2 separate regions of the Homo sapiens genome follow, and region 2 is linked to region 1. Evidence: promoter capture Hi-C in 16 types of primary human blood cells and fetal thymus (Javierre and others, 2016). All regions are on one chromosome and are shown on one strand. Each heading gives the region's core, a stretch centred on a gene start or on the middle of the fragment in contact. The rest is flanking DNA. Distances are from core to core; before and after follow the strand shown. Region 1 holds the start of PSMB1 (proteasome 20S subunit beta 1). Region 2 has its middle 2.3 kb from the start of SLC17A5.

What was found. Contacts are between HindIII fragments. The CHiCAGO score rates a contact against its expected background, and 5 or more counts as called.
Region 2: a fragment that was not itself captured here is called in contact with the fragment with the promoter of PSMB1 in region 1 in 2 of 17 cell types (activated CD4 T cells and total B cells); the score reaches 9.0 in activated CD4 T cells.

The regions. Positions count from the first base shown.
Region 1 is chr6:170,551,778-170,554,694 of GRCh38, reverse strand. PSMB1 (proteasome 20S subunit beta 1) reads left to right here and starts at 1,388. Exons shown (of 6, transcript NM_002793.4): 1 at 1,388-1,565. The coding sequence starts at 1,453. TBP (TATA-box binding protein) reads right to left here and starts at 326. Exons shown (of 8, transcript NM_003194.5): 1 at 232-326. RefSeq lists enhancers at 56-445, 1,256-1,635. The HindIII fragment of the contact is 7,721 bases long and covers 1-2,917 here.
Region 2 is chr6:73,654,928-73,657,646 of GRCh38, reverse strand. No RefSeq gene overlaps it. Among named protein-coding and RNA genes, the nearest start is that of SLC17A5, 2.3 kb to the right of the region's middle. RefSeq lists an enhancer at 2,451-2,540. The HindIII fragment of the contact is 2,167 bases long and covers 333-2,499 here.

The sequences.
Region 1 (2,917 bases), core at 139-2,638:
ACAATCGTACGATGGGAAGCTGCCTGCGAAACACAGCAGAGTAGGGCACCAGGCGGGAGTGGCGGCCGAGTGGCCGTTACAGGCCGGAACGGCGGCAGCACGAAAGGGAGGAACGTCCCCCGAGGGGCCTGCACGCGCGCCAATTCCTAGTCTCTTCCCCACCATTGCCCCCAGGCCTCAGTGCAGTGGTGGCCTTCGCCCGAACCGTCAGAAAAGAGTACAATCTGTTACCTGGGTCACTGCAAAGATCACTATGGGCCAGCGGAAGCGAAGTTAAACAGCCGGCGGCCCAGGCGCCCGCCACAGCGAACCTGCCCGACCTCACTGAACCCCTGGCGCGCGTTGATAATGTCACTTCCGCCAGTTCTGCCCTCGGCTTCAGCGAGTTGCTCCCACTAGGGCCGAGGCCATGAGAAGTGTGAGCATAGGTCACTTCCTGTGTTTCCATAGGTAAGGAGGGGCGAAGCTCTTGAGGAGTTCCGGGGCGGGGCCGCCGTGCCACAGCCATCTCTAATTGGCCCTTGCTGGACGTAGGAAAGATCGATTTTTAAATGGCGTGTGTGTGTATATGTGTGAGTGTGTTTTGTTGTTGTTGTTGTTGTTGTTTAAAGCAACTAGCGGCGTTACCTTCGACAAGTTACCTGACCTCTCCCCCGCATTTTTTTTCTGTAAAATTGAATAATGATAACAGTGCTTACCCTTGGGCTGTCGGGAGATTGACAGAGATTGACAGAATCAGTGCCTGAGCAGTGCTTGGCACTCAGTAAGCGCGTCCTCCTTACCTGTCAGCAAGAACGCTAGCTGATCTTCAAGCGTGTAGAATGACAAGGAACACTAAGCAAAACAAACAGCTTGTGTTTACACATGCATTTATATTCAGTTCTGCCACTCCCAGTTCATGCACTGTTGTCACATGGCTCTTTCCGCAGTTGTTTCTTAGTGGGACTTCAGCACGCCTTGATTTTCCCTTCTGTAGTTCATTGTGGCGTAATCATATGTTATACTGCTTGTTTTCTTTGTACTTTTTATTATCAGTGAGGTTGTGAGCTCTTTAAGGATAGGAAATGTTATATACATTTTTTATTAGCCAGGACAATTAACGTTCCCACCGTTATTCGAGTTGCCGTTGCGCCATAGTTCTGACAATTTTTTTGTATGGTCAGACTTAAATTTTTGTCCATTGGGGTGAATTCCAATGTTTTCTTCGAGGGGGAAAAAAACAAAAAACAAACAAAAAAAACCCTTTACATCCCTGTCAGCGCTTTTTGGAATGGGCGGGATTCAACTACCAAAGGGACAAGCCGCCGTGCAGCCCTCCAGGAGCAACGACTAGCGTGAGATAGAGAGGCCGGGAGCGAACTTCAGGAGAAGCCGGAAGTGGCGTAACGTCCGGTCAAGGCAGCCATCTCGCCGTGAGACAGCAAGTGTCGGATCCGCAGGCGCAGCCGTGCGATGTTGTCCTCTACAGCCATGTATTCGGCTCCTGGCAGAGACTTGGGGATGGAACCGCACAGAGCCGCGGGCCCTTTGCAGCTGCGATTTTCGCCCTACGTTTTCAACGGAGGGTAAAAACCCCAGAGAGCTGCGGCTTTCACTTTCGCCCTTCCCCCATCTGCTGAAGCCTATTTAGGAGTCACCGCCGTGATGGCGCTGCCCCGGGCTCCTGCAGGCCTCAGAACCCTGAGCTGAGGGGGTCCGCACAAGGCCGGTCTCCCTGCCGTCCTCTCATGCCCTGTGTTTCCCTCTTCAGGCTCGCTTTGCTCAAGTTTACTTGGTGATTGCGATACAGCCTTGGTTTTTAGGGTTTCCCATTACAGTCATGTCATTTGAGTTTTTATGTGGACCGCCACTCCGTGCTCCTTGCTGCTGTAAGACAGTAAAGTAGAAATTGAAACATAGCCTCTGCTCTGTGGAAGACCATTAAAACTGGACCTCATGTACACGTTTCTTATGCCAGCCGGCGAGGGTAGAGGGTTAGCGTCTGAAACTTAAAAGTTAGGGTTGTTTGGTCTGTGTTGTTAGATGCATAGCTGGGTTGGTAGCCGAGATGTCTAATTGTAGCCGCCTGATTTCTGTTATTTCTAATTGTAGCAGTTTAATCATTTTGTTTTATTTCAAATAGAAGGTGGGATTGGCTGAGCAAACTTAGTTTCATAGATAAGTGCTTTTTTTTTTTAACGTTTAGCTTAAGTTCAGGAAAACAAAATACTCAGAAGATGGACCTTTTAGTATGTGTGTTCTTGTATGTTATGTTCAAGTTTTGGTTTTTATTTTAATTACCAGCTTTATCTTGAGTAGTATAATTTTCCGTGGTGGCACGCCAGAGATTTAGGGTTATAGAAAGATGCTCTGTTTAAGACTCTTGACAGGGAAGAGCTGTAAATTGAAACAGTGGTTATAGTTACCAATCAAGCCTTGTACATTAAAATATACACACGCAATTTGAACGAACCGATGGTTCTTAAAACAGAAAATATTGGCTGGGCAGTGTGGCTCGCACCTGTAATCCCAGGACTTTGGGAAGCCAAGGCAGGAGGATCATCGCTTGAGGCCAGGAGTTGAAGACCAGCCTGCGCAGCATAGCAAGACCCCATCTCTACAAAAATAAATTTTAAAAACAAAGCAAAAATGTTAATTGGTTCCTCATAAATTTGAAATATAAATGCACATTTTGGGAGTGTGTTAGAAAGATAACGAAAGTCTGATTTTAGCCTTGGTTCTGCCACTAAAGGACACTTTGGGTACTTCTGAACTTCTTGAACCTAAATTTCCTTATCTTCCTTAGTAGCTTCATAGTTTTTGGTGAGAATCAAGAGAGATGCATTTTGTAAATTGCAAGCTGTCATCTTATTTAATCCTCATGAAAAGTGAATGTTAGATGATATTAGCATCCTAGGGTTATATTAGACGTTAAACT
Region 2 (2,719 bases), core at 167-2,666, about 97 Mb after region 1:
ATCTTTTATGGTAGTGTGCAATCAGGAAATAAATGCCAGATATAAGGGGGAAAAAATGTGTCATCATACTTTTTTTTAATCTTCTTGGGGCCAGGCACAGTGGTTCACACCTATCATATCAATACTTTGGAAGGTCAAGGCAGGAGGACTGCTTGAGCCCAGCCTGGGCGTCACAGGGAGGCCCTGTCTCTAACAAAAATGTTTTTAAATTAGCAGGGCGTGGTGGCACATGCCTGTGGTCTCAGCTACCAGGGAGGCTGAGGTAGGAGGATCACTTGAGCCCAGGAGGTGGAGCCTACAGGGAGCCGTGATCACACCTCTGCACTCAAGCTTAGGTGACAGAGTAAGATCCTGTCTCAAAATCTTCTTGGGAAGATTATAAAAACAAAAACCAAAGTACCTCCTCTGAACCTAGAATCAATGACACTGCAATAGGAAGAAGTACACCCAATGCTCAGATGTTAGTTTGTAATATCATTCTCCTTATAGAAATGGCAGGGGTAGAGAATACACAAGATGAGCCTGGAACATCTTGTTGTACCAGAAAGTAAGGGAATGCTCAAAAAACACAACAATGGAGGCATGCAAGACACAAGAGCCAACTGAAAGAGCTCTTAGTCACCAAAGCTGGAACAATTTGAGCAACAAAATAAATAACATAGTGTTGGGAGTATAACCCAAAGTATAAAATAATAACCATGACATCATACTAATAAAAATAAATGATTGAATAAGTAAATAAATGTAGGAGAATAAACAAATCTCCCAAACAAAAGAATTCTTCCCCTGAAACTGGTGGAGTATAGATAACTCCCCACCCCTTAAGTGAAGGCTGCACATACTGATTTCCTTCCAAAGAGAAAAGTAAGGCCGGGGGAAAAGAGTTAACTTCACAGTGAAAACACCTGACAAACACAACCTCAGGCATGCAATGAGGCTTACCATCACTACTGATAAACATCAGTGATAAATAAGTTGACAGCACATTCCCTTGACATTACATGATGAGAATGGCCCTTTACCTCTATGACCTTTCCCTCAAAAATCCATAACCCCAGTCTAATTATAAGAAAAACATTCAGGCCGGGGGTGGTGGTTCATGCCTGTAATCCCAGCACTTTGGGAGGCTGAGGCAGGTGGAGGCTGAGGCAGGAGGTCAGGAGATGGAGACCATCCTGGCTAACATGGTGAAACCCCATCTCTACTAAAAATACAAAAAATTAGCCGGGCGTGGTGGCATGCACCTATAGTCCCAGCTACTCGGGACGTTGAGGCAGGAGAATCGCTTGAACCTGGGAGGTGGAGGCTGCAGTGAGCCGAGATCGTGCCACTGCACTCTAGCCTGGACGACAGAGCGTGACCTCGTCTCAAAAAAAAATTCGACAACCCAAATTAAGACACTTTCTACAAAACCTACCAGTACTCTACAAAACTGTCAAGGTCAGCAAAAGCAATGAAAGTCAGGAACTGTCGATCTAGAGGAGCCTAAGGAGACATGTAATGTGGCATCCTGGATGAGATCCTGGGACCGAAAAAGGATATTAGGTAAAAATTAAAGAAACGCAAATTAAGTATGAACTTCAGTTAATAATTATCTATACTGGCTCGTTAGTTATGATATATGCATGATACTAATGTAAGATCTTAATAATAGGTCAAACTAAGCAAAGGGTATGGAGAACTCACTGTACTATCTTTGCAACGTTTATGTAAACCTAAAATTTCTAAAATAAAAAATATTAAAAAAAAGAATTCCTCTGGTTTGAAGTCTTTCAAGTCTGTTGCAACTATATTCCCTGGCCCAAGTTATCTATAACCTTGGTCATCTGGGAGCTTGTTAGCAATACAGAATCTCAGGCACATCCCAGATGTACTGGGCTTCTCAGAGAAACAGCCCCAATTGGGTAGTTTGGGTAATAAAGTTTTGGCTTTCACAATATAGGCTGGCCAACTCGACCCAAAACAGATGATGGTGCACATGCCTGGAGACCCAGGAGGACCTGTGGTGCAGATGAAGTCTGAGGACACTCTGCTGGAGAAGTCTCCCTTGCTTGGGCAAGAGAAGTGGGGGAGTCGGATTTTTTATTCTAGATAGGCCTTCAACTGATTGAAGGAAGCCCACCCAGATTATGGAAGGCAGCCATCTTTACCCAGAGTTCAATGATTTTAGTGTTAACCTCATCCAAAGACAACCAGCAAGTTAACACATAAAATTAACCATCACACCAGATCTGCTGAATCTGAATCTACATTTTAAAAGGATTTGCCAGGTGACTCTGCATAATCCAGTTTGAAAATTGCATTTTTCTACAACCCTTAGAGAGTGTAAAAATCTACATGGTAATTCAGTAACTCAGAAACAAGGCTTGATTTGCTGCTTTAACTTGAGAACTTTTCTAGCATTTACTGATCTGGAGGTAGGGATGCCTACAGAAATCCTCGCCCTCCCTTCTAGGTAAAGGACCCTCCCCTTTGTTCTCACGTGAACCTCACTAAGCTTCTAACCTGGTTTACTGAATTAGTGGCTTGTGGGTCTTCCCTGTCTACACCAAACTCTCCGAGAGCATCTACATCTTATTTTCTACCTCCACAGAGACAGCCTTTATTGGCGGATCCAGATCTGCCCTGCCAAGGCAAGCTGGGTTTTCCTAGTTTCACTTTCAGAGTCCGCAAATGCTAGCACAATCTATCCAAATTCTATCGTGGAGATAAAGCATGC